Regions from separate parts of the Homo sapiens genome. Here all the other regions are linked to region 2. Evidence: promoter capture Hi-C in 16 types of primary human blood cells and fetal thymus (Javierre and others, 2016). All regions are on one chromosome and are shown on one strand. Each heading gives the region's core, a stretch centred on a gene start or on the middle of the fragment in contact. The rest is flanking DNA. Distances are from core to core; before and after follow the strand shown. Region 1 overlaps UTP18 (UTP18 small subunit processome component). Region 2 holds the start of NME1 (NME/NM23 nucleoside diphosphate kinase 1). Region 3 overlaps SPAG9 (sperm associated antigen 9). Region 4 overlaps SPAG9 (sperm associated antigen 9). Region 5 overlaps SPAG9 (sperm associated antigen 9).

Region 1 (5,711 bases), core at 2,269-4,768, 120 kb before region 2:
TAAAAGAACACGTTTTTGTAGAGAGAATATATTCACTAACATGATTAATATATTCTTCACTTCTCAATCTATTATTTTAAACCACTATTTTACTGAACTTTTATATTCAGTGGAAGAAAAATTTTACTCCAAATCCCCTATTATTATGGTTCCTTGTACACTGAAGTCATACAGGTGCATTCAATAAAAATGTGAGTGGGCAAGGGATGGTGAGCGACCCAAACTGTGAACAGGCAAGGGGTGAGCAGCTGTGATTGAAAACAGTGACGACAGACTTTGGAGCAAGAAGCAAGGGCAGTATGCTGACTGGATGTTCTGTTTTGTATTTCCAAGTAAATGAACTCTGTCACTTCTGTGAGACTTAGCTATGCTTCGGGCTATGATGTTTTAGCTATGAATATCTTTTTCAGTATTTTTGCATTTGGGGTTGCAAATGTCTGGTCCTTAAATAAAAATAATGCATTAGAAATAAATAAGTAAATAAAGATGCATACCTGAAATAGTGATACAGCATTATCTAATCCAGCAACCATCACAATCTGTGCACCGGGATGGAACTGCACAGATGAGATCCGAGCAACAGTAGGACGTTCAGCATTCGCATGCTGGCAGTTCTTCATCTATAGGAAATGAAAGCTGGGATTTTATCAATTGAAATGAATAAACATTATTTTCTTTAGAGTAAGAAGAAAAGACATTACAGTTTATAATGAAGGAAAAAAATGCACTGGAATGGTAACCAAACACAACTCAAAAAAAAAAAACAAAAAACAAAAAAACCGCAGCTCTGGCACCAACTAGCAAGTCACTTTACCACAAAAGAATCCATTTTTACCATCTTTCAAATAAAAAGATTAAATCATTAAAGTGCTTTCCATATCTAGAAGTCTGAATGTATTACTCATTCTTGGAGCACTAGTATGTAGTCATTTCCCCAAAATACATCCATTTGTGTTAAGAGACTTTCACTTCTGAGGAAATTTCACTTAAAACTTCTACTTTGGCACCTGGCATCTTTGCATTCATGGCACAAATGCAAGAGGCACTGCACAGTTGTCCCCACAGTTCTTCAATTGGCACAGGTTGCTTTATTCTCTTAGGGTACATGGTTCCAAGTTTAAAGTAATGGTAATCTCACATCCATCACCTGGACTATTTTGTTATTTATTTTGTTTTTACAGGTTTCCCCTTGAATTTTTAAAATTCAGTTAAAAACAAAAGTATGTGTTTTGTTTGTAACCACCAAGTTAAATTTTTATGGTAACTACAACTTTTTTTTTTTTTTTTTGAGACTGGGTTTCACTCTTGTTGCCCAGGCTGGAGGGCAATGGCGTAATCTCGACTCACCACAACCTCTGCCTGTTGGGTTCAAGTGATTCTCCTGCCTCAGCCTCCCAAGTAGCTGGGATTACAGACATGTGCCACCACACCCAGCTAATTTTGTATTTTCAGTAGAGATGAGGTTTCCCCATGTTGGTCACGCTGGTCTCAAACTCCCAACCTCAGGTGATCTGCCCGCCTCGGCCTCCCAAAGTGCTGGGATTACAGGCGTGAGCCACTGCGCCCGGCCATGTGGTAACTACATTTTTAATGGAGGTGAATTCACCCGTAAAGAGCTAAATGAATTGTCCTCATAAGGTGCAAGACAAAATCACTGTATCTAATTTATCATAATAGTTTCCCCTGCCCCATTTAAATACTCCTGCCATGGTGTAATAAGAAAAGAGACCTATGTCGCTGGGCGCGGTGGCTCACGCCTGTAATCCCAGCACGTTGGGAGCTGAGGCGGGCAGATCACCTGAGGTCAGGAGTTCGAGACCAGCCTGACTAACATGGAGAAACCCTGTCTCTACCAAAAAAACAAAAACAAAAAAAAATTAGCCAGGCATGGTGGTGCATGCCTGTAATCCCAGCTACTTGCGTGGCTGAGGCAGGAGAATTGCTTGAACCCGGGAGGCGGAGGTTGCAGTGAGCCGAGATCACGCCCTTGCACTCCAGCCTGAGCAAAAGAGCAAAACTCTGTCTCAAAAAAACAAACAAACAAACAAAAGATATCTATGTCACAGAGAGATCTGTTAATATGACAGATATTTAACTAAAGTACTGCCCGTTAGTATGACAGATATTTAACTAAAGTACTGTGCTACATAGGCAGCTGGTTACCATAATGAACATGCTAGACATAGTGATGAGTTAGAAAGTGAATAGTGTAGACCACTTTAGAGAAAGTCTTGTCTAAGGTGCCATTTGAGCAGAAAGGTAAGAATGAGCTAGCCATTAGGACTTCCTGAAGACAAGGCAGGCAGAACAAAAGAGAAAGAGCAAAGGTTCACAGGCAAGAAAGGACCTAGCAGCATGTCCAAGAAACAGAAAAAGGCTTGTGTGACTCAAGTGGGAAATCATGGGAAACAGGTCTGATATGAGGCTAAGGATCCAGGCAAAAGCCAGACTGTAAAGGGCAGTGTAGAATACGATAAGGAATTCAGAAGTTTTCAAAAAGCAATGAAAAGTGACATGACCTGATGTTTTATTTTTAAAAGATCCCTCTGGCTGCCATACAAAGAATGATTTAAAAAGAGGTAAAGTAGAAGTAAAGAGTCCAGTCACAAAGCTACTGCAATATGCCAGATAAGAGATGACAGCAGTATGAACTAGGCTGATGCCAATGAAAATGAAGATAAACCAAACGGGATTCCTAGAATTACTGGAAAATTTATTTATTTATTTATTTATTTATTTATTTATTATTTTAGAGACAGGGTCTCGCTTTCACCCGGGCTAAAGTACAGTGGTTCCATCACAGCTCACCGTAGCTTCAAACTCCTGAGCTCAAGCAATAGGAACATAATACCTCTAGAACATTTTTTGCAAAAGGAAAAAAAAAAAACAATAACATAAGTATTTACCAGGGCAAAATGACAGCAAACATATTTAACCCCACAGATAATAGGAATCCATACATCTGCTACTGGGAAGCAAATTAAACTGCAGAGGTAAGTAGTTAGATAGGATCCCCCAACTTCACTGACTCTCACCTTCAAGATTCCTCTTGGAAGAGAAGTTGATGTGGATATGAAATTCCCAGTCCTTTGCAACAAATCATCTTCATCCTCTTCACTTTCATCTAAGTCAAACAAACCCAGAAGGCTGATCTTTAGAATCAATGAGCTGCCCCTTTTACCTACCCCAAACTTCTATGAATATATTTTCAACATCAACTCCCTTTCCAGCCTCCCTACCTCAATTGCTTTTTTTAAAGCTGCAACTGGCAAAAGCAAAACAGGAAAAAAAAAAAAAAAATTTTAAAGGAGAAGAAAAAGATGACACAAAGCTTAACATCCATAGTTAAAATCAAAGTTTAACTCTAGAATGAAAGACTAACACATACACAGATGGTTACTAAAACAAGATGAAGTGAAATAAAAGTTTAAAGCCAGCATTTCATTTAAAAAGAGCAACTCATAATTATGGCAAAATTGGCAACAGGTTGGCTACTGATCTAGTTTAACAACTCACATGAATAAAAACCAGAACTTTTAGCTGAATGATCAATGTCAGCAATCTATGTATCAGAACTTCAAAAAGAGCAAATAGGGCTGCTTTTCCCCCTGGAGATGACTGATGATTCCAGTGGAGACAGCTAAGAAGCTGAGCAAACTTAAAACACTTGCGGAGCTAAGAAGGGAAAAACTAGCTCTAAGCTTCTTGACAGGGTCTGGTAAGCCACCAGATTTTGGATTGCGGCCACAAAGGGCTACCACTAGGATTAAAGACGAAATCAAAGAATTATAAGAAAATCTTCCCAAAACTGAAATTCTGCTTCACAATTCCTCATTAAAATAAAACGTTCTGGGATTACTAGTGTCCTCTGCCAAGCTACCTACCTAGAAGTAAACATATAAACCATCATCCTAGATCTAATTAATCTACATTATTTTTCATATGCAATGTCCACCACTCAATGAAATATAACCAGGCAAATATTGACAAGATAACTTGACTAAAAACCACAAGGAAAAACAGACAATCCCCACAGGGATCTAAACAACGGAATTATCAGACACAAACCTTAAAAATACTATGTTCAGGCCAGGCGCGGTGGCTCACATCTGTAATCCCAGCACTTTGCGAGGCCGAGGTGAGTGGATCACCTGAGGTCAGGAGTCAGAGATCAACCTGGCCAACATGGAGAAACCCCGTCTCTACTAAAAATACAAAAATTAACTGGGCATGATGGCTTATGTCTGTAATCCCAGCTACTTGGGAGGCTGAAGCAAGAGAATCACTTGAACCCAGGAGGCAGAGGTTGCAGTGAGCTGAGATTGCGCCACTGCACTCCAGCCTGGGCAACAGAATAAGACTCTGTCTCAAAAAAACACAAACAACAACAACAAAAAAAACTATGTTTAATATATTTAAGAATGAAAGACAAGATTCAAAATTGAGCCAGAAATGTAGAATATTTGAAAAAGAAATTCTAGAGCTGAAAAATACGTAATTAAAAGTAAGCCCCCAATAGGCCAGGCATGGTGGCTCATATCTGTAATTCCAGTACTTTGGGAGGCCGAGGCAAGTGGATCACTTGAGGTCAGGAGTTCGAGACCAGCCTGACCAAAATGGTGAAACCCCGTGTCTACTAAAAATACAAAAATTAGCCAGGCATGGTAGTGCACACCTGTAATCCCAGCTACTTGGGTGGCTGAGGCAGGAGAATCATTTGAACTCAGGAGGCAGAGGTCGCAGTGAGTGGAGGTAGTGCCACTGCACTCCAGCCTACACGACAGAGCAAGACTAACTCAAAAAATAATAACAAATAAAATTAAATTAAGCCTCCAATAGATGTTTTTAACAGTACATCAAAATTAGCTGTAGAGAGAATTTGTGGTCTAGAAAACGAATCAGAAAAATATACCCAGACTGAAGTACAGAAAGAAAAAGGATAAAAAACACTGAATACCAATGTGGGCAACATAATAAGATCCTGTCACTACAAAAAAAAATTTTTTTTTTCATTAGCTGGGCATGGTGGCACATGCCTGTAGTCCTAGCTACTCCAGAGGCTGAGGTGGGAGGATTGCTTGAACCCAGGAGGTCGAGACTACAGTGAGCCAAGATCACGTCACTGCACTCCAGACTGGGCGATAGAGTGAGACCCTGTCTCAAAAAAAAACCAAACCAAAAAATAGGTGGAAGACATTTAATATACGTATTACTAATAATCTAGAAAGGAAGACTGGAACAGAAACAATACTTGAAGACAGGTGAGAATTTCCAAAACTTACAGAAGACATCAAGCCAGTTCAAAAGTACTATGAAGTCTAAGCAAAATACAAAGCAAGCTAAAATGATAGGGAGAGGGGATAAACAAAGAGCAACACAATACAACAATTCATAATATTAATGAATTGCTGTTGATTTTTGGAGCTGTGGTTATGTTCAAAAGGGAGAATTTTCTTATAACGAAACTCAGTAAATATTTACAGATAAAAATAACACACTGGAGATAATCATGAAGCTGAGTGCTAGTCACCATTCTGTCAACAATAAGTATACCTTCAACAAGTCACTATCTCTTTGAACCTCTCTCATGTACAAAATGAATGTGTTAGACAAGCATATCCCATACTGTAGCAGACTAATTGCTGACTTAATCCACTTCCTTTTTCTCCTGTGCACAAAGCCAAACTACACTTCCTAGGATCCTCTCAGCT
Region 2 (5,793 bases), core at 1,991-4,490:
TGTCTCAGCCTCCCGAGTAGCTGGGATTACAGGCGCATGCCACCACGCCTGGCTAATTTTTGTATTTTTAGTAGAGACGGGGTTTCATCATATTGGTCAGGCTGTCTCGAACTCCTGACCTCAGGTGATCCGCCCGCCTCAGCCTCCCAAAATGCTAGGATTACAGGTATGAGCCACCGCACCTGGCTGGTTCAAGCAATTCTTATGTCTCAGCCTGCCGAATAGCTGGGATTACAGGCACCCACCCTGATGCCCAGCTAATTTTTGTATTTTTAGTAGAGACGGGGTTTCACAATGTTGGCCAGGCTGGTCTTGAACTCCTGACCTCAAGTGACCAGCCTGCCTTGGCTTCCCAAAGTGCTGGGATTACAGGTATGAGCCACTATGCCTCACCCAGCCGAGAATTTGGATTATCTCTAGAATTTGTTTGAAGAAGGGTTATTGGTCAATCAATCCTTTGCATTTATCAAAAGATTGCTTTGTAAGTAGCTTGCAGGTACATCTGCTCTCTGCTGTTTCTGAAGAACCTCCCCAAAACCAAAACCATAGTTTTCCTCCACCAGCTCCTATGATACCTAATATATGCTAAACAATAAGCATTTATTAGTGTCTAGTAATTGATGATGGAAAGACTTTCTTGCTAAAAAACAACCTGTCTCAAAGGGGGAAAAAAATCTCTCTAAAATTATCTGCTCAGGAAGCTCAAGACCAAGAACTCAAACATGCTCAGCTCTCAGTCAGAAATTACAGAGATGCAGTCATATGTGGAACTCTGCACTGCTTTTCCCGTAGCAATGCACCTCCTATTACAGAGACTATTTTGGAAAATCCTAAATAACTTGGTTTGTTCCAAGATGTAGCCAAACGCTAGGGCACTGAGGAGTTTCCAGGTCTCAAGACACTTGTGTTCACTCTACCGTGGAGAACTTTAAATAAGAAAGACGGGGAGAAACAGGTTAATCACAGTGTTCTCCTATACTATGAAGGAATCAAAATGGGAACAATGAAGTCCACTTACTTGCATGAATTTCAGACCAACAAGGCGGAATCCTTTCTGCTCAAAACGCTTGATAATCTCTCCCACAAGACCCCGCTGGACCCCATCTGGTTTGATCGCAATGAAGGTACGCTCACAGTTGGCCATGGTTCTGGGGATAGGCAGGTAGAGGAATGAAACAGCAGTGAATCACTTGCCTACAGCGTCATCCGTCTCAAGCGGATTATCCCATAAAGCTGGTTTAAATCTGTCAGGTCAGCTCCAGGTCTCCCTCTGGTAAAAACCCAATTCCTCCCCAGTCCCCTGATCTATGAACTAATATGTCAATGTGGGAAAGGATCCAAAAGCAAGGACTATAATTTCTATCCCATTTGATTTATTTTATTTTCATTTGTTTTGGTTTTTGTGGGGTTTTTTTAGAGATGGGGTTTCGCTATGTTGCCCACGCTGGTCTCGAACTCTTGTCCTCAAGTGATCTGCCCACCTCAGCCTACCAAAGTGCTGGGATTATGGCCATGAGCCACCACACCCAGCCCCATTTGATTTTTTTTTTTTTTTTTGGTATGGAGTCTTGCTCTTTCGCCCAGGATGGAGTGCAGTGGTGCGACCTTGGCTCACTGCAACCTCCACTTCCCAGGCAAGCAATTCTCCTACCTCAACCTCCTAAATAGCTGGGACTACAGGTGCGTGCCACCACACCCAGCTAATTTCTGTATTTTTTTTTACTAGAGATGGGGTTTCACCATGTTGGCCAGGCTGGTCTCCAACTCCTGACCTCAAGTAATCTGCCCACCTCAGCCTCCCAAAGTGCTGGGATTAAAGGCGTGAGCCCCATGAGCCTGGCCACCATTTGATTTAATAAGCTTCTTTTAAACATCTACTGTGTACCAAACACTGCGGTGGAACTAGGATACAGGATGTTAAAAACAAGGCACTATCTTTCTCAATAATCAAGCTTGGGAGAAACTACACTGATGAAAAGTTTTACTAATGTGAAAGTGATGTCCGGTACAAAGCAGTAAGAAATAATAGTTTGACTTAATGCCACAGCCATAGCATTAGGGGTTTTAGAGAATATATCTTTACAACCCCCTTCATTTTACAAATGAGGAAACAGGACCACAGCACCAGAATGAAGGCCAAAACCCAGCATTCCCAACCCATTAATCCATTCTTGTAATGTTATGCTACACTTTACAATGCAAAGAATATTTTGACTAGCCAATAAACGGTGGGGTGTGGGAGAACTACAGACATTAGGAATATCTGATACGGGACATCATACTGAAAGGAAGCCTAGAGAGTAACTATTCCGTCCAGATCCCTCATTTTACAGAAGACTGCGCTCATGACCTACCCTGTATCACAGCTTGAGATAGGAGGCCCCTCGCCTTGAAAGACGATCCCTAAAGTAGACAGTAGCACCATCTCTTGGCCCCATCTTCCTGTCCTTTAGTTAACCTCTTCTTACAGCATCTTAGCACTGTAGTCCAATTTTCTGTTTGTGTGTCTGCCTCCCCTGCACACCAGGCTGACTTAGTCCTGTGTAGAGACTCTATGGTACCTAGCCACAGGGCCTAGCAGTCAATAGGAGCAAAGAAAATCATTTATCACCATTCTGCAACTTCCAAAAAAAAAAAAAGAGAGAGAGACAAAGCCCAAAGACTGCGGAGAATCGCACGATGGGGTGCGGGGCAAGCATAAATTGTCCAGGAGAAAACAGGACTAAAGCGCCAGAAATACACCCTAAAAATGTCCCTCCACATCGGTCCCGGTGACACAACAGTAAGCACTCAGTGCTTGCTGAATGAATGACACACACACCCGTCATTTATTCAGCAAGCACTTACAGAGCGCCAACTCCGTGCCCGGCACTGCTCTCGACAGACACAAATAAGGCACAGCCCTGTCGTCGCGGCCTGACGAGAAAGGCGGCCACCGACAAAGGCGAGTCCACGTGGCGTGGGACGTGCGCCGACCGGTCTGCACTTGTCCACAGGCGCTCCCTGCCCCTCCTCCCATCCGATCCTCCTCGCCGCCTCTTAGAGCTGAACTCATCTCTTCACTAACTCCTCACCTAACCCACTCCCGCGACTACACTCCTTTCTTTTTCCTCTCAGGATCCCGAACACCTCTTACCCTTCCAGCTGCTTAGGTTTGAACTCCGGCTGCAGCCGCCAGCACCCGAAACGCGCCCGGGACCCACGTGGTTCGCAGCACTTGCACGCACGGAACGCTTCTGCGCAGATCCGCTGCCGGAGAGCCCATTTTGCAGAACACCGCTCGCCCACGCTTCCTCTTGGGAGTAGGCAGTCATTCTAGGGAACAACTTTCTGCAGTTTAACTTCCGGCGCTAGCTTTTTCAGACCTTTCCGGTTAGCTGCTTGCTTTCTTCTCTCCACCCCCGGGTTCTCTGACTCACTTCCTTCGTTCGCGAGCAAATTGGCTTCCCGAGAGGTGGCGCTCACACGTTGCGTGAAGTCCAAAGAGTGCCTGACCTAGAAGTAGACTTTTCGCTCCCGCTTTGTGTTTATTCACCTTTTCTAGCCTGTCAAGCAAAAAATTTTGAGTACCTACTACGTGGACGCATTATTCTAGGCCCTAGGGATAAAACAGTATGCTCTCTTGGAGCTTCTGGGAGGGATGGGAGTATAGGAAAACAAGAAGCAAATAAGCAAATTAATATGTAATAGATCGCATTTTGTAAGTGCTGTGAAGAAAAGGCCAGAGAAATCTCTGAGTAAGTGATAATAGAATAGACCTGCATGAAGTGAGGGAGCCAGCCCAGTGATTCTTCGAGAGCCAAGTATTACGGTGGACATCGAGTGGTGGAAAATGCCGTTAGAATAGAGCCAAATCTTATGTTGTGAGATGCTAATACAGATTTTGCACAAGGCATGACATCATCACTAACAAAAAAACATTCCCACTGCTCTAAGGGGAAATGAACGGGGGAAAGGTACAAAAATGGAATCAGGAGCCGTTTCAACAAATGATGCTGGAGCAATTGGACGAATATAGACCCAAAGAACCTCAACCTAAACCTCTCACCTTATACAAAATTTACTCAAAATGAATCATAGATTTAAATGTAAAACAATAAATCACTTATGGGGAAAAAAAAAGTTAAAAAAAATCCTCAGGACCTAGGGCCAGGCAAATAGTTTTTAGACGACACCAAAAGACCAATCTATACAGGGAAAAAGTTGATAAATTGGAACTTACTGAAATTTAAAACTTTTGGCCGAGCGCGGTGGCTCACGCCTGTAATCCCAGCACGCTGGAAAGCAGCGGCGGGAGGATCACTTGAGCTCAGGAATTCGAGACCAGCCCGGGCAACATAGTGAAACCCCGTCTCTACTAAACATACAAAAATGAGCCGGGCGTGGTTGCAGGCGCCTGTAGTCCCAGCTACTCGGGAGGCTGAGGCAGGAGAATCGCTTGAACCCGGGAGGCAGAGGTTGCAGTGAGCCGAGATTGCGCCAGGGCACTCCAGCCTGGGTGACAGAGCGAGACTCGGTCTCAAAAAAATAAAAAATAAATAAAATAAATAAGTAAAATTTCATTATTCTCCTGTTTTCTTTTTTTTCTTTTTGAGACCGAGTATCGCTTTGGCGCCCAGGCCGGAGCGCAGTTGCACGATGTCGGTTCATTGCAAACTCCGCCATCCGGGTTCAAGCGATTCTCGTGACTCAGCTTCCCGCGTAGCTGGGACTACAGGCGTCTGCCACCACGCCCGGTATTTTCTTTTTCTTTTTTTTTTTTTTTTTTTGAGACGGAGCCTTGCCAGGTCGCCCAGGGTGGAGTGCAGTGGTGCGATCTCGGCTCACTGCAACCTCCGCCTCCCGGGTTCAAGCGAATCTCCTGCCCCAGCCTCCCGAGCAGCTGGGATTACAGGTGCCCACCACCACACCCGGCTACTTTTTGTATTTTTAGGAGAGACGGGGTTTCACCATGTTGGCCAGGTTGGTCTCAAACTCTTGACCTCGTGATCCGCCCGCCTCAGCCTCCCAAAGTGCTGAGATTACAGGCATGAGCCACCGCGCCTGGCCCTAATTTTTGTATTTTTAGTAGAGACGGGTTTTCACTATGCTGGCCAGGCTGGTATCGAACTCCTGACCTCAAGTGTTCCATCTGCCTCGGCCTACCAAAGTGCAGGGATTACAGGCATGAGCCACCGTGCTCGGCCTTTATTTATTTATTTGTTTATTTATTTATTGAGATGCAGTCTTGCTCTGTCACCCAGGCTGGAGTGCCTTGGCGGATCTCAGCTCACTGCAACCTCTGCCTCCCACGTTCAAGTGATTCTCCTGCCTCAGCCTCCCGAGTAGCTGGGACTACAGGCGTGCACCACCACGCCCGGCTAATTTTTGTATTTTTAGTAGAGACGGGGTTTCACCATGTTGGCCAGGCTGGTCTCAAACTCCTGACCTCAGGTGATCCGCCCACCTTGGCCTCACAGAGTGCTGGGATTATAGGCGTGAGCCACTGTGCCCTGCAGAAAAGAAATTTAAAACCTTTGTCCTGTGAAAGACCTTTTGAAGAGGACGAAAAAACAAGCTAGAGTGGAAGGAAATATTTCCAAACCACATATCAGATAAAGGCCTTCTCTTCATTTGAAGGTTTGAATATTTGAAGAACTCTGAACGCTCAACAGGTTAAAAAAATCCAATTAGAAAATGGGCAAAAGACATGAATAGACATTTCATTGAACAGGATATACAGAGGCAAGAAAGCACATGAAAAGATGTTCAACATCATTAGCCACCAGGGAAATTCAAACTAAAACCAAAATC
Region 3 (5,459 bases), core at 506-3,005, 73 kb after region 2:
ATTACAGGCGTGAGCCACCATGCCTGGCCTGGTATCACAGTTTTAAATAGGTTGGCCAAAGAAGCCTTCACCAAGAAGGTGAGATTTGAACAAAGATGTGAAGGAAGTAAGTAGAGAGCAAGCTGTTTGGATATCTGGAAGAAGAGAATTCTAGGTAGTAGGAAGCAAGTGCTGAGGCTTGAAGTGTTTGAGGAACTGCATGGATGCTTGAATCAGAGAATGGGAAGGAGAAGAGGGTAGGAAGAGAAGTAGGGGATGATGTCAAAGAAGTAAGAGAATGGTGGAAGCATGTTGTGTAGATCCTTAGAGGCTATGGTAAAGAATTTAAACCACTAGAGCGTTTTAAGCAGAGGATAAATTGTTTTTACTTTTTTTTTTTTTGAGACAGAGGTTTGCTCTTGTTGCTCAGGCTGGAGTGCAATGGCGTGATCTCAGCTCACCGCAACCTCTGCCTCCCGAGTTCAAGCAATTCTCCTGCCTCAGCCTCCCAAATAGCTGGGATTACAGGCATGCGCCCCAGACCCAGCTAATTTTATATTTTTAGTAGAGACGGGGTTTCTCCATGTTGGTCAGGCTGGTCTCGAACTCCTGACCTCAGGTGATCTGCTCGCCTCAGCCTCCCAAAGTGCTGGGATTACAGGCATGAGTCACTGCTCCTGGCCTGCTTTTTTTTGAGAGGGGGTCTTGTTCTGTCGCCCAGGCTGGAGTTTAGTGGCGTGATCTCAGCTTACTGTAACCTCCGTCTCCTGGGTTCAAGCGATTCTCCTGCCTCAGCCTCCTCAGTAACTGGGATTACAGGAGCCTGCCACCACGCCCAGCTAATTTTTGTGTTTTTAGTAGAGACCGAATTTCACCATGTTGGACAGGCTGGCTGGCTGACTTTTTAAAGAATCCTCCTAGATCCTCTAGAATATATTGTAGAGGATTAGGGTGGAAGTAAGAAGACTAATTAGGAGACTTTCACTGTTGCAGTAATCCAGGCATTAGATGATTGTGGCACACACCAGGATGGTGGTGGAAATGATGAAAAGCGGTCAGATCTGAAGGTAGATTTGCTGATGGATTGGATATGTGAGGTACTAGAGAAACAGAAGAGTCAAAGCTGACTCCAGAGTTTTGGTCCTGAGTAACTGACCACAGTAATTTAATGAGCTAGAGAAGACCAGGAGAGGAGCAAGTTTTCACATGCTAAATTTAAGAATTTAAGATGCTTTTTTTTTTTTTTTTTTTTTTTTTTGAGATAGAGTCTTGCTCTGTAGCCCAGGCTGGAGTGCAGTGGTGCGATCTCGGCTCACTGCAACTTCCACCTCCCGGGTCCCGGTTCAAGCAACTCTCCTTCCTTAGCCTCCCAAGTGGCTGGGATTACAGGAACGTGCCACCATGCCCAGCTAATTTTTGTATTTTTAGTGGAGACAGGGTTTCAGCATGTTGGCCAGGTTGGTCTTGAACTCCTGACCTTGTGATCTGCTCTCCTCAGCCTCGCAAAGTGCTAGGATTACAGGCGTGAGCCACCACACCCAGCCTTAAGATGCTTTTTAAACATCCAATTGAAGTTTTCTAGTAGGCAGTTGGACATACAAATCTGGAATTCAGGTCTGGGCTAGAGATAGAAATTCAGAAGTTGTCAGCATATAGTTCGTACTTAACGCCATGAAACTGGACGCGATCACTAGGGAATAAGTGTAAACAAGGAAGAGAAGATGTGTCCAAGGACGGAGCATGCCAATGTTAAGAAGTTGGGGAGAAAAGGAGGTACTACCAAAGAAGACCAAGAACGAGCAGCAAACAAGAAAACATCCTGGTAGCCAAATTAAAAAAAAAAAAAAAAAGTTTTAAGGAGAGCGGATCACTTGTCAGATGTTGCTGATACAACAATCAAGATGAAGACTGAGATTTAATGATTGCACTTAGTGTTACTATCCTTGATGAGAACAGGTTTGGTAAGTTAGATTTGAGTGGTGGAGTTATTCCTAGGACATGTCCTTTTCTTAGGAATTTAAACTCCATGGTTCAGGTGAATCTATGACTATTAATCACACAACCATTTAACAAATATTTATTGATTATTCCATCATTCTTTTGTTCTCTATTGTACATGTTATAGATTTTTAAGTTGTCTGGAAGTCAAGATGCATATGCAAGTATACAAAAGGGTTTATATATTTGTAGTAAGATATGTATATCATATGGAATGCCTATAACATGAAGTGGAAACAATTATTTTGTTATTTTTTTCTTCTATATTTGGGAGTTTTTTAAACTTAATTTTTATAGAAAAACTAAAAATCAACCCAAGGTCATAATTCTGAGATCTAAGTAGTTAATACCTAATTGTGATTATTGATTCCAAGAAATAACAGGAGTTGAAAATGTAAAGTTTAATTTCTCTGATTAAATTTATATTGTTCTTCTTTATTAGAAATTCATTGAATTTGAAGACTCTCAAGAACAGGAAAAAAAGGACTTACAGACCCGAGTGGAATCTTTAGAATCTCAAACAAGACAACTTGAGCTGAAAGCGAAAAACTATGCTGACCAGAGTAAGTAAAACATTTCTTCTCATAAGTACACTAAAGATTGGGCTTGGCCAGACGTGGTGGCTCACGCCTGTAATCCCAGCACTTTGGGAGGCCGAGGTAGGAGGATCACTTGGGTTCAGGAGTTCAAGACCAGCCTGGTCAACATGGTGAAACCTCGTCTCTACTAAAAATACAAAAATTAGCTGAGCATGGTTGTGCATGACTGTAATCCCAGCTACTTAGGAGGCTGAGGCACGAGAACCATTTGAATCCGGGAGGCAGAGGCTGCAGTGAGCCAAGATGGTGCCACTGCACTCCAGCTTGAGCAACAGAATGAAACTGTGTCCCCCCACCCCCCAGAAAAAAAAAAAAAGGAATTGGCTCTAATGGTGCAATGACTCATCCTGAAATTCGACTAAGGTTCTAAATACAAACTTGGAATTGTCATCCCAGACTCAAGAGTGAGACCTAGGACCTAGGGTTAGTTCTTTTTTATTCACATTTTCACATGGTACCCATGTGTGCAGAACTGACTAAACCAGATATATCGATCAGACTCACTTCAATTTAGATCTCAGCCTTTGTTTGTAGTTAACATTATGCTTTAACCATTATGCAAGTGTGTGTGTATGTGTGGATCATTTCCTCTATTTTTGATCAAGTACACAAAGCTCCATTTTTTCTGTTTTGCTTTGAAATGTAAAAATGTAAGGTAAACTTACAGCTTTGAAGTATGTATTTAAAAATTACCTAAGCATGTAATTAGATACTGGAGAAAAAAAAGTACTGAATCCTCTTTTTTGCTCCTTTTTTTAATGGAAAAATGGGGCCATTTGGGGGGAATAGAACTTCATTTTTCAGAATCATTTTATTTTTAATATAATTTCATATTTTCTTGGTTTTTAAAATTATTGTTTCAAACCTCAAGGATGATTTTCCCCTTTGGCTAATAAAAACAGACCTAATTAAGTCAAAATTAGAAAAAAAAAAAGGTGAGAAACTTTATGGCCTATTTTCATGTCTGATATAGGTAGGCAGACAATTCTCTGCTTTTCTCCCAGCATTGTAAACTTTCAGAATCCTAGGGAGCAAAGGATGGCCAGGCAGCTACTCTATCCACATTACTCATGAAGGCTACATAGTGACACCAGCTATAAAGGTACAGCCATTCATGATGGAATGCCTTCGCCAGCACTCTTGGGGCGTGTGTGAGAACTGACTGTTCTCTCTAGTACTCTGGAAAGACGGAATAGAGCTAAATTAAAACCACTGGAAATCTGGAGTTCAAGCATTCTAGAATTCAAGGAGAACTCAAGTGGCTATTAAGCAGATGTCCTAGAAGAGGGCCAATGGATGTTTGGTAACAGAAGCCAACTTGAGCGAGAGAAAATGAGCCGTGTGTCATGCTTTGTGTTTTTAGCCTTGTGGATACCCAGAGTTGTTGGATACCTTTGTTACCATTGAATACATTGAGTGACTTCTATGATTTCTACCATAGAAATTTGAGGTTTGCTGGGTATGATGGCTCATGGCTGTAATCCCAACACTTTGGGAGGTGAAGGTGGGAGGATTGCTTGAGCCTTGGAGTTTGAGACCAGCCTGAGCAAGATAGCGAGATCCTGTCTTTATGATAAAAAAATTAAGAAAACGAGGCCAGACGCGGTGATTCACACTTGTAATCCCAGCACTTTGGGAGGCTGCCGAGGCGTGCAGATTGCTTGAACTCAGGGTTTCGAGACCAGCCTGGGCAACATGGTGAAACCCCGTCTCTACCAAAAATACAAAAATTAGCTGGGTATGATGGTGCGCACCCGTAGTCCTAGCTATTTGGGAGGCTGAGGTGGGAGGATCACTTGAGCTTGGGAGGTGGAGGTTGCAGTGAGCTGAGATTGCACCACTACACTCCAGGCTGGGTAAGAGAGTGAGACCCTGTCTCAAAAGAATAAAAAAATTTGAAATCTCGGAGGACTGCATGATGGACTCCACAGGGCATCCACTAATAGATATAGTACTGTAGTCACATTACTATGAATACTATTCATCTGGAGAAATGGTCTTGTGGCAATTGCAAGCTTTTGGTACATTTCAAGAGTTGAACCTTTTCTGTTCAAGAAAGAAAATTTAACTATTGGAGGTAATGTTTAAATCCTAATTTGATTGTACTTTTTTTTAAATAGAGACAAGGCCAGGCACGGTGGGTCACACCTGTAATCCCAGCACTTTGGGAGGTCGAGGCGGGCGAATCACCTGAGGTCAGGAGTTTGAGACCAGCCTGACCAACATGGAGAACCCCGTCTCTACTGAAAATACAAAATTAGCCGGACATGGTGGCACTTGCCTGTAATCTCAGCTCCTCGGGAGGCTGAGACAGGAGAATCGCTTGACCCCGGGAGGTGGAGGTTGCAGTGAGCCGAGATCACACCACTACACTTGGCCTGGGCAACAAGAGTGAAACTGTCTCAAAGAAATAGATAGATAGCTAGCTAGATAGCTAGATAGCTAGCTAGATAGATAGCTAGCTAGATAGCTAGATAGCTAGCTAGATAGCTAGCTAGATAGCTAGATAGCTAGATAGATAGCTAGATAGCTAGCTAGCTAGCTAGATAGCTAGATAGCTAGATAAGATAGATAGATAGAGACAAGATCTCATTATGTTGCCCAGGCTGGTCTCGCACTTCTGGGCTTCAAAGTGCTGGGATTTCAGACATGAGCCACTATGCCTAGCATGAAGGGATTATATAATCTTTTAGAACCAAACACTAAAGACACAGTTGACAGACTCAGCCTACCTTTCATTGTTTTACGTATTAAGTTTTCTTGTTGATATCTGCAGGGTACACAAAGTTTTCTTTCTGTCTTTTTTTTTTTTAAGACGGAGTCTTGTTCTATCGCCCAGGCTGGAGTGCAGTGGTGTGAGCTCGGCTCACTGCAACCTCCGCC
Region 4 (5,416 bases), core at 2,640-5,139, 110 kb after region 2:
TTCAGATTTCTGCTTTGTGCATGGTTTTAAATGAAAGTTCATAGTATATAGTTTTTATTTATTATTTAAATGTTTATAAAATATTTAAACCCTAATTGTAGATTTAGATAAATTAAGAAGAATTAAAGTAGTAACTTCCCTTAATGTGTTTCTTTTTATTCATAGGTCAGTTCAAGTTTAATATTAGTTGAAAGCCCAGAAATTAAATTTCATCAATGACTTAAAACTAGATACTTGGTCTTTTATTTTCTTTCCTGATTTATAAAAATTGGGAATAATCTTACTACTTGTATATATATTAGTACATAAAATATTTGTGTACGTGTATCTGTATATTTAGGCTTTGAAGAAATTAAAAGCAACTGAACTTAAGAATATGTAGAATATTAATATAAGACTAATGTTAAGGGGATGTCTTGGGTTTAGGCTTCATTTGAGAGGGCAGTGCCGTGAGCTGCTGTGCGGCGCCTGCAAGTGGGTACAACAAGGCTTTGGAATTGAACTGCCTGGGTGCAAATGCTCTATTGCACGTGGCCGTAGGAGCTTTGGCAAGTTGCTTAATCTCTCTGCCTGAGTTTTCTCTCCTGATGGGACTTACCCCGTTGGGTGGTTTTAAAAATCAAGTGATTTTATTATTTTGTATTTAATTATAGTTGTAAGATATATGGTAAATTACTTGAGTAAATAATTTTCAGTTACTTATATGTGTCCATTTTTAGCAGAAATTGTTTTAGCTACAGCTAAAATACCTTATAATTAAAATTTTAAAGTTCTTTACCACAAAAATTGCTACTGATCTGATTAAATAAAGATATCAAAGTCTTTGATATTAAGATTAAATTGTCAAAAAGTTGGTAGTTCCAAGTAGGAAGTTCCAAGGAAAGCAAAGGGCTTGGAATTGAACAGTACTGGCTTTGAATCGAAACTCTGCCAATTACTAGTGCCTAAAATCTCTGAGCATCACTTTTCCTACTCTGAAAAATTGGAAAAATAATCCCTGTTTCTTGATAAGGATTAAATGCGATAATGTAAATAAGTCATCTAGCTCAGTACCCACCACGTGGTGAGTGTTCAACAAATGTACTTTTTCTTTTATCTGCCTTTATATATAAAGCAGATTTTACTAATTAGTTGTATCAAATGTGAATATAGCCAAAAAGCTGTTCCAAAAATGTAGTTGTAAAATTATTTATATACATAAGCTAACATTTAATAACCAACTCAAAAATGGATATATGGAAGTAGGGCAATTAAGAAAAAAGAATTCTGATAGTTGTTGATAGCTTCGTTTTCTAGACAAGTAATAGCAGATGTTTTGGTCTGCAGGTATAAATCTGCCACTTGATAGTTTTCCACGTGTATCTCATTTTTTTCCTTCTTCTGTGAGTTTGAAGCATTTAATGCATGCCAACATAGTACTGGACTAATGTTTACCTTTCAGGGTTTCTTTTCAAAAGTAGGATTCTCATGAACTTGCCTAATTATGCGTCCTTCTCTCCCTTACCCCAACTGTATGTAATTTGTAAGTAAAGTAAGGGGAGGAGTATGTAGTAATTATTTTTTCAGAGTTGGAACATTGTAACCTAGAGCATCATTGACCCACTTGACAGATAGCTGTCAGTCTCTGAAGAGATCTCCCCTCCCTGTAGAGTAGTTTCTGAATGATTGATACAAGCAAATTAAAAAGGTGGGAATTCTATTTGCAATTTGGGTTGTAGATTTTGTTGACTGTTGATTGTAGATTTTGTCAACTGATTTTGTTTACTTTTTGGAAAGTAAAATTTGGATTCATAGAAGACTCCCTCCCCCAATAGTTTTAAACTTTTTCAATATTTGTTATGTGTGAAAATGAATGGCTTATATTTTGATTTCTATTAGTGTGAGGGAGTCTTATGAAGTCTGTATATCATCTTCCTGGTTGTCTTTGCATTTTGAGTTAGAGAGCTTTCCATTATATTCAGTCATTAAATTCCCAGTCACCTTTTGCTTAACTCATTAAGGTATGTTAGAAAATAAATAAAAGTCAGCTAGTAGCTCTTAGTCCCCTTGGATTTTCGGTTCACAAAATATGGGGGGAAAACATCAGATTGACAACTTTTTATTTTGTCCAGAATGAATATGAAAAGGAAATCTAGCTACTTATCACTGTCACCATCATTTAATGAAAGAAAGGGCATTTTAAAATCAAAGAAGAAGAAAAGATGTAATTTAAAATAAGGGTCAGTCATTTTCAAGAAAGAACAGGGTTCTATAGTATATGGGAATGTGTATGTGTACAATAGGTACTATATTATCTATGCACTAAGGAAATAATAAATAACGCCTCTTTTTTCATGGACTTATTATAAAAACTTTGTTGCTGAACAGCATTTGGGAATAACTGGTGTAAACATGGTAGCTGACTAGTCACTTTAATTTTTGTCATTTGGTTGTCCCGGCAGCTCATAGTCGCAAACTTAGATTTGGTGTTAAAATTTACCCTCTTGGCCAGGTGTGGTGGCTCACACCTGTAATCCTAGCACTTTGGGAGGCCGAAGCAGGCAGATCATGTGAGGTCAGGAGTTCAAGACCAGCCTGGCCAACATGGTGAAACCTTGTCTCTACTACAAATACAAAAATTAGCCAGACGTGGTGGTAATGCCTGTAATCCCAGCTACTTGGGAGGCTGAGGCAGGAGAATTGCTTGAACCTGGGAGGCAGAGCTTGCAGTGAGCCGAGATCGTCCCACTGTACTTCAGTCTGGGCAACACAGCAAGACACAAACAAACAAAAACTACCCTCTTATTGTACTGCCTTCCTGCTTTTGAATTTTCCCCCTAAATCAAAGTTCTGTTTTTAAATTTTATTTCCTTGTGCATACAACTTTGACTAAATGTAGTCTCTCAACCCCTTTGCTTCACCTCATTTTTAAGAAGGCATTGGGATAGTTTTACTAGTCCTTTTAGATTGTTAGGAATGGAAGAACACACCCTTTGTATTAAGTGAAGACACATTTCAAAAGTGGCTGAAGTTTCTTGGAATAAAAATGAACTACAGAATTAAAGACTTACTTAGCAAAACTGAAATTTTCCCACTTTAATTAATGAGCTCATTGTTTTTATTCTAACTTACATTCTTACCAGTAGAGGTAGGAATTCCAGGAGGCACCAAACCTTTAGTGTATCATTTCTTTCTAGTTTCTACACTTTTGAGTTAATGACCCAGGATGACCCGTTAGTAGGCTTGTTTCCACCCTCTAAAAGCTCTTCGATTTGGAATCTTGTGTGCATCAACAAAGGATGTGTTTCTCGTTGAAATTCTGTTAGTATTAAAATTGTAACTCTTGTTCATTGAAACTTCTCACAAAGCATTGGAAATTCAGTAATCTTTTATAGAATTATTTGACCTTCTTATTTGGAAAAAACCGACAATGGTTTTCTCATATGTACTGTGCTTGAAAGGAACTCATATAGTGGTTCTGTAGAAAAACAGAGCTTTCTTACTTGGGTGGTGGGGAGAAAGATATTTTGAGTTCTTTTCATCATTTAATAGGTAGCCCTGATTTAGATAATATATTGATTTTCCTCTAGGCAGGAAAGTCATACCCTGAAGAAGCTTCAGTAAACATCCAGGGATTAGCGAGAGGATTTGGGAAGAAATGGGTTGGATTCACTTCCAAAGAAGGAGGTTGCAAGTTCCCTAGGGCTAAGCTACGTATGGTTAAAAACCCAGCAGCAGCTCTTCTCCAGACCACACTAGACCACTGACTGCTTCTTGGGCAAGGAACTCGTCAGTAACTTTTAAGATTTCCTTAACCCTTCTTACCACTTTTCTTAGTTGATTTCTTGAGGCTAATTTCCTGAGGCTAACTAAACTGAGACTGTCCTTCCTCTTTGGTAAGTCTGTTTTATTCAGATGGGCAGACAGTGTCATTTTTGAGTGATGGTTGTAAAACAGTGGCAGTCCAGGCTTATTACTTATAGTCATGGCAAATAAAAAGTCAAAATAAATGAATGCCGAATTTTTTCTCCCCTCTTCAAATAGAAAAGAACGCCCTATATCATTAGGAATTTTCCCATTACCTGCTGGAGATGGATTGCTTACACCTGATGCTCAGAAAGGAGGAGAGACCCCTGGATCTGAGCAATGGAAATTTCAGGAATTAAGTCAACCACGTTCTCATACCAGCCTGAAGGTAAGCTTTATGCTGCTGAAATTGTGTCAGTTTATATTTCATAAACTTTCTTATCCTAATTGAAGTGCTAGACGACCACAGTATAGTAAAATGTAATTGTTTGTATACATTTAGTTTGTAAAATTGGTTTTTTAAATTGGAAATGAGCTCTTACCAAAGAGTGTGTTTTTTACTATTTTATTTCAAATTATATAGGAAAAAAAGTGAAGCATTATATCATCTTGATTAGTATACTAATGACAAAAATTAATTTCTATTTGATTTAGGCTATATGAGTTTAGAGTAGGGTAACTAGTGAACCTAATTATATTAGAATTGAAAATCGCTATTACCAGAAAGTCTTGGTTCATGTTAGAGGCTTTCCAATTTAGTAGGGTTTCACTTACAGAAAAACAAAACAAAACAAACACACTGTTCCTTCTTTAAAACCGCTTCATAGAGCAGTCTACAAAAATGCATTATGTTTAGCTAAAAAGGCGTGGTGTAAATTAATTATAGATATGTTCTTGACCAAGAACTTGTCATCAAATAAGTGATAAATATAAACAATAATATATGCTGAGTGGATATAAGCTAATAATTAACTTTTAAGAATATTTGAAGTTCTGTATCTTTTAAAATGAAATATTCATCATATTGATTATAAAAGATCTTTTGTTACCTTATAAAATCAACTCATCATGAAACAGGCCACCTGCAATGAGTAGAAATGAGTTACATGTATCTTATTTCCTTTTCCTGCTTTATTTTTCTCCATAATACTTATCATGGTCTAAGCATGTAAAGATAGCTCTTAACAATGCTTCTAAAATACTGTCATTTACTGTATTTAGTTGCCTCTAGACTCTTCCCTAAGAACATAAATTCTATGAGGTTTATTTACTGCTGTATCCCCCAGCACTTGGAAAAGTGCCTAGCACATTATAGGTACTCAGAACATGTTTGTTGAGTGAATGATTTGTTTTAGATGTTAGAAGGAATCTTTGGGGACAATATAAGTGGTCTTTCTCTCAACTCTAGAATGTAGAGGCATTCAGAATCATTCTATTGACCTTTGAAATGTGCTCAAAACAGTAAGCAGTTGATAAATATTTGATAGCTTTTCTCCCACTGAAAATCATTTTTAACAATAGGGGTTACCTTACCTTTTCTCCCTTCTTGCCCCAATTTGTTAGAAGCTAATAGTGCTCAGTATTAGCCCACAGTGATGTTACTGGGCAACTCGCTCGCTCTCACTTTTTT
Region 5 (5,708 bases), core at 764-3,263, 92 kb after region 2:
AAAGATAGACGTGGTCAGCATACAATTTTTTTTTTTTTTTTTGAGATGTAGTCTCGCCCTGTGGCCCAGGCTGGAGTGCGGTGGCACAGTCTTGGCTCACTGCAACCTCCACCTCCCAGGTTCAAACGATCCTCCTGCCTCAGCCTCCCAAGTAGCTGAGATTACAGGCATGCACCACCACGCCCAGCTAAATTTTTTTGTATTTTTTGTAGAGATGGGGTTTCGCCATGTTGGCCAGGCTGGTCTTGAACTCCTGACCTCAGGTGATACGCCTGCCTCGGCTTCCCAAAGTACTGGGATTACAGGCGTGAGCCACTGTGCCCGGCCAGCATACAAGTTTCTAATATGTAACAGTAAGTTGAAAATATCTTAAAATACCACTTTTTGTGCATTAAAAACATGAAATTTTGTGTGTGAAAGAGATAGTAAAAGTTTGAGACCTGTAATTTTAAGACCTTTAGCTCTTATGAAAATAACAGGCATAAACTATGGTAATCTAGACAATGGAATATTAGTCAGTGCTAAAAAGAAATAAACTGTTTGTCCAGGAAAAGACGTGGAGTAGGTTGTGTGTGGTGGCTCACGCCTGTAATCCCAGCACTTTGAGAGGCGGAGGCAGGTGGATCTCCTGAGGTCAGGAGTTCGAGACCAGCCTGGCCAACATGGCGAAACCCTGTGTCTACTAAAATACAAAAATTAGCCAGGCATGGTGGTGGGTGCCTGTAGTCCCAGCTACTCAGAAGGCTGAGGCACGAGAATTGCTCGAACCTGGCAGGCGGAGGTTGCAGTGAGCTGAGATCATGCCACTACACTCCAGCCTGGGTGAAAGAGCAAGACTCTGTCTCAAAAACAAACAAAAAAAAGATATGGAGTAACCTCAAATGCATATTACTAAGTGAAAGAAGCCAATCTGAAAAGGCTAGGTACTATATGATTCCCACTATGTGACATTCTGGAAAAGGCAAAACTATGGAGACAGTAAAAAGATCATTGATTGCCAAGGTTTGGGAGATGGTAGGGAGGGATGAATAGGTGGAGCACAGGATTTTTAAGGCAGTGAACTTATTTTGTTTGATACTATAATGGTGGTCACATGTCATATTTTTGTCAAAAGCTGTAGAGTATACAACACCACGAGTGTACCCTAATGTAATTGATATATTTTGGGTGATAAGCATGTGTCAGTGTAGGTTCATCGATTGTAAAAGGTATACCACTCTGATTCTGGATGTTGATGGTAGGGGAGGTTGCGTGTGTAGGGGGCTGCAAATACATGGAAATTCTCTGTACTTTCATTCAATTTTGCTGTGACCCTAAAACGGCTCTAAAAATAAAGTCTATTAAAAATTAAAAGGGACAAGTCATCTGTAACTCCAGGTAGTTTGCATGTGCTAAATGCCCTTTTTCTGTGATAAATGGTTGCTATTAAATAAAAAAATATAGATATGTATGTATATTATTTATATGAGATTAGTAAATATAACCATTTCACCTTTTGAAAGAGATGGTTAGAGAATGGATTGATAGTTTATCAAATGTTATTTCTGAGGTGAAAGTAAGACTGTGTTGCCAAATGGAAGTAAATTTAGCAAAAAGTAACCCTGATGGGTTAGAAAGCTGTGAATGGAGGCTGAAGGAATTAATGATAGAAATAATTCAAAATGCTTAAGGAGAACAAAATGATTACTAGAACTTTAAGGAATTTTTATGGATGAACCTAAGCTTATGTGAACAATGGTCATATTCATTTAGATAAATATTGGAAATCTCCCAAAATTAATGGTATATTCTGTTATATGTCTCCTTCCCACAAGCCTTTTTTTTTTTTTTTTTTTTTTTTTGGAGACAGAGCTTTCGCTCTTGTTGCCCAGACTAGAGTGCAATGTTGTGATCTCACCTCACTGCAACCTCCACCTCCCAGGTTAAAGTGATTCTCCTGCCTCAGCCTTCTGAGTAGCTAGGATTACAGGCGTGCACCACCATGCCCAGCTAATTTTTGTAGTATTAGTAGAGGGGTTTCACCATGTTGGCCAGGCTGGTCTCGAACTGCTGACCTCAGGTGATCAGCCCGCCTTGGCCTCCCACAGTGCTGGGATTACAAGTTTGAGCCACCGCTCCTGGCCTAATCTCACTATTAAGTGGTGTACATTTGACACAAAGCAATGCAAACAAATTGATTAGGAAACTGGCATAAAATCAGTCAGGACCTGACTTTGTTTTGTGGCATTATAATGTTTTGTTCTGTAAGGTATAAACCCAGCTCTCTGACCAAGTCAGTTGACAAACATCTTATATAAAAGCTTCTCTCGGTGGGGCGCGGTGGCTTACGCCTGTAATCCTAGCACTTTGGGAGGCCGAGGTGGGTGGATCACGAGGTCAGGAGATCGAGACCATCCTGACCAACATGGTGAAACCCCATCTCTACTAAAAATACAAAAATTAGCTGGATGTGGTGGTGCACGCCTATAGTCCCAGCTACTCAGGGAGGCTGAGGCAGGAGAATCGCTTCAACCAGGGAGGTGGAGGTTGCAGTGAGCTGAGATCGCACCATTGCACTCCAGCCTGGGGACAGAGTGAGACTCTGTCTCAAGGAAAAAAAAAAAAAACAAAAAAAACCCTTTTCTCTGAGGTTTGCTTAATGGTATAAGTCAGCTAGGGCCGCCATAACAAAATATTACAGACTGGGTGGCTTCAATAGCAGAAATTTATTTCTCACAGTCTGGAGGCTGGAAATCTGAGATCCATGGTACAAGCAGATTTGGTTTCTCCTGAGGCCTTTCTCCTTGGCTTGCAGGTGGCTGCTTTACCTCTGTGTCCTAATATGGCCTTTTGCCTATCTCTTGCTGTTATAAGGATACCAGCCCTGTTGGATCAGGGCCCCACCTTAATGACCTCATTCAACCTTAATTACCTACCTTCTTCTGCCTTTTTTTTTTTTTTTTTTTTTTAAAAAGACAAAGTCCCGCTCTGTCACCGAGGCTGGAGTGCAGTGGTACAGTCTCAGCTCACGGCAACCTCCATCTCCCAGATTCAAGCGATCCTCCTGCCTCAGCCTCCCGAGTAGCTGGGATTACTGCTATTTGCCATGACGCCTGGCTAATTTTTGTATTTTTAGTAGAAACAGGGTTTCACCATGTTGGCCAGGCTGGTCTCGAACTCTTGCCCAGGTAATCCACCTGCCTCGGCCTCCCAAAGTGCTGGGATTACAGGTGTGAGCCACCTCGCCCGGCCCTTAATTATCTTCTTAAAGGCCCTATCCCCCAAATGCAGTCATATTGGGAGGTAGAGCTTCAACCTATGAATTTGGGGGGTGAGGGAGCACAATTCAGTCCATAATAGGTCAGGAGATAAGAGTTCTCTGTGGGGATGGGAAGCAAAGAGTGTTGTGACTTGACAATCAGATCCAGAAAAGTCTTACAGACCATTGTAAGAATTTTTTTTTCCTTTTAAAAATGAGATCGGAAGCTTTGAAGTTTTGAGCGGTTAGTCACTGTTTGATTCCATCTCTATTTTGAGAATGTAGGGAACAAAGACTAAGTAGAGAAACTAGTCAGGAGACTAGGATTATTATTGTAATAACCTAAGCAAGAGATGATGTCTTGGGTCAAAGTGAGAGTGATGAAGGTGGTAAAAGTGGTGAGATTCTGGTTTTTGGTTTGTTTGTTTGTTTGTTTGTTTGTTTTTTGAGATGGAGTCACACTCTGTCGCCAGGCTGGAGTTGCAGTGGCGCAATCTTGTCTCACTGCAACCTCTGCCTCACTGCAACCTCTGCCTCCTGGGTTCAAGCGATTCTCCTGCCTCAGCCTCCCAAGTAGCTGGAATTATAGGCATGCACCACCACGCCCAGCTAGTTTTTGTATTTTTAGTAGAGATGGGGTTTCACCATGTTGGCCAGGCTGTTCTCGAACTTCTGACCTTGTGATCCGCCCACCTCGGCTCTCAAAGTGCTGGGATTACAGGCGTGACCCACCAAATTTTCTTTATCCAGTCTATTCGGTAACATTTTTGTTCTCTCCCTGAGAATGCTACAGTCAGAGCAATAAAGCTTGTTTGTTATGGTTCTGAATAGTTTGTTTAAATCCCATTCTACATGTTGAACTCATAGCCATTGTAGGATAACATAAGGAAGAATGAGTATTCAAGCAGAGGAAAGTGCCTGTGTGAATGGATGCACATCGTGTTTGAACTGAGGTGGGCTGGGGCTATACAGGCATAAATACATCAGATCACTGACTCCTCCCCAGAGGTAACTACTATCCTGACTTGTAACATTTCAGATTAGTTTTGTGTTATGTCTTTGAATTTTGTATTCTTTTGTTTCTGCTTCTTTCCTTCAATATCATATTTGTGCTATTGGTCCATGATGTTGTGTGTGGCAATAATTTGTTTATTCACGTTGTACAGTATTCCAGTACATGAATATTTATCCATTCTACTCTTGATGGACAGTTGGATTGTTTTCAGATTGTGCTTCTTTGAACATTGTTTTAAATACCTTTGGGTGGACATATATATAGGCTTTCTAGCAATGACATTGTTTTGTGATAGGGTTGGCAAACATTCGAAACTTAACTAAATCTTGCCAAACAGTTCTTAAATTGGGCATACCAAGTTACGGTGTATGAAACCATACACCACAGTTTATGAAAGTTCCAGTAGTTCCACATCCATACTGGCACTTGGTGTGTTGTGTTTTTCACTGTAGCCATTCAGAAGCATGGTGGTGTTGCATTTTGGTTTTAATGTGCATCTCCCTGACTTGGGTACACATTTTGCTTGGCAGTTTGATGCCCTTTGTATCAAAGTATCTGTGAATGGGTTGTTTCTGTAAGAACAGAGGAGTTTTTTGTTTGAAGCATACTCCCCTCTGCCCAAAGTGATATCTTAAAGTAAACTCCAATATACAAAACAGATTAAAATGAGTATTTGCTGAGAAGCAGTATAGCATGGTAATTAAGAACACAGATTCTGGAGCCAGATTCTGATAGGAATCCTTGCTTTGCCATTTTCTATCTGTGTGACTTTGGGCAAGTTACTTAGCTCCTATTTGCTTCAGTTTCCTCATCTCTACCATGGATGTAATAATAATACTTTCATCGTAAGGTTAATGTTAGGCTCAAATAAGTTAGTTTATATGCAGTTCTTAGGACTGTATGGTACATAGTAAGCACTTGATGTTGTTGGCTGCTATTAGTAGTGGTGGTGTTGGTGATACAAATTTATTTATGAATTTATATCAGCTGACAAGAATAATAAGGCTCTACTATTGAGCACAAATTTGAAATTGAGGATTATGAATGATAGTTGGATTTTATTTCAGCCTCAGCATCCAATTTTTGTTTTTGTTGCACATTATCAAGAAAATAATGATTCAAAAAGATGAACAATTGAAAATAGATATGGTTTGTCCAGTAGTCTCAGAATTCCTTTAAGCTTTTAATCAGTTTAAATGACAAGTAGTAGAAAATGTTTATTTTGAAATTATTAAATATCCATAATTTGCTTGGATTTCCTGTTTTTAAATAAAAATCATAGAATTAAATTTTATTAAAAATTAATTTGTGGTTTTAGCATCTATTATTTTATCACAACACATCTGCATAATAAATTTGCTTATTATCGCTTTCAGCCACAGGATAAGATGAGCAGCAGATGTATTCAACACTTGTGTGGCATGATAAAATGTGCTCCGTGGGTACTGTAGTGTG

The links. Contacts are between HindIII fragments. The CHiCAGO score rates a contact against its expected background, and 5 or more counts as called.
Region 1: a fragment that was not itself captured here is called in contact with the fragment with the promoter of NME1 in region 2 in 1 of 17 cell types (M1 macrophages); the score reaches 5.4 in M1 macrophages.
Region 3: a fragment that was not itself captured here is called in contact with the fragment with the promoter of NME1 in region 2 in 5 of 17 cell types (M2 macrophages, M0 macrophages, monocytes and 2 more); the score reaches 11.9 in M2 macrophages.
Region 4: a fragment that was not itself captured here is called in contact with the fragment with the promoter of NME1 in region 2 in 16 of 17 cell types (M2 macrophages, M1 macrophages, M0 macrophages and 13 more); the score reaches 26.4 in M2 macrophages.
Region 5: a contact is called between a fragment that was not itself captured here and the fragment with the promoter of NME1 in region 2, in 4 of 17 cell types (M2 macrophages, M1 macrophages, M0 macrophages and 1 more). The highest score is 10.4, in M2 macrophages.

What each region holds. Positions count from the first base shown.
Region 1 is chr17:51,270,775-51,276,485 of GRCh38, reverse strand. UTP18 (UTP18 small subunit processome component) reads right to left here. Exons shown (of 14, transcript NM_016001.3): 5 at 3,036-3,124; 6 at 495-620. Among named protein-coding and RNA genes, the nearest start is that of UTP18, 13 kb to the right of the region's middle. The HindIII fragment of the contact is 370 bases long and covers 3,334-3,703 here.
Region 2 is chr17:51,151,006-51,156,798 of GRCh38, reverse strand. It overlaps NME1 (NME/NM23 nucleoside diphosphate kinase 1), which reads right to left and starts at 3,240. Exons shown (of 5, transcript NM_000269.3): 1 at 3,137-3,240; 2 at 1,019-1,148. The coding sequence starts at 1,144. NME1-NME2 (NME1-NME2 readthrough) reads right to left here and starts at 3,240. Exons shown (of 9, transcript NR_037149.2): 1 at 3,137-3,240; 2 at 2,355-2,574; 3 at 1,019-1,148. RefSeq lists enhancers at 1,042-1,573, 2,970-3,389, 3,173-3,704, 2,728-3,927. The HindIII fragment of the contact is 18,411 bases long and covers 1,955-5,793 here.
Region 3 is chr17:51,076,665-51,082,123 of GRCh38, reverse strand. It overlaps SPAG9 (sperm associated antigen 9), which reads left to right. Exons shown (of 30, transcript NM_001130528.3): 2 at 2,420-2,540. Among named protein-coding and RNA genes, the nearest start is that of SPAG9, 41 kb to the left of the region's middle. The HindIII fragment of the contact is 5,676 bases long and covers 1-4,593 here.
Region 4 is chr17:51,040,259-51,045,674 of GRCh38, reverse strand. It overlaps SPAG9 (sperm associated antigen 9), which reads left to right. Exons shown (of 30, transcript NM_001130528.3): 5 at 4,024-4,174. Among named protein-coding and RNA genes, the nearest start is that of SPAG9, 78 kb to the left of the region's middle. The HindIII fragment of the contact is 585 bases long and covers 3,597-4,181 here.
Region 5 is chr17:51,057,746-51,063,453 of GRCh38, reverse strand. All of the region lies in intron 2 of SPAG9 (sperm associated antigen 9), which reads left to right. Among named protein-coding and RNA genes, the nearest start is that of SPAG9, 60 kb to the left of the region's middle. The HindIII fragment of the contact is 578 bases long and covers 1,725-2,302 here.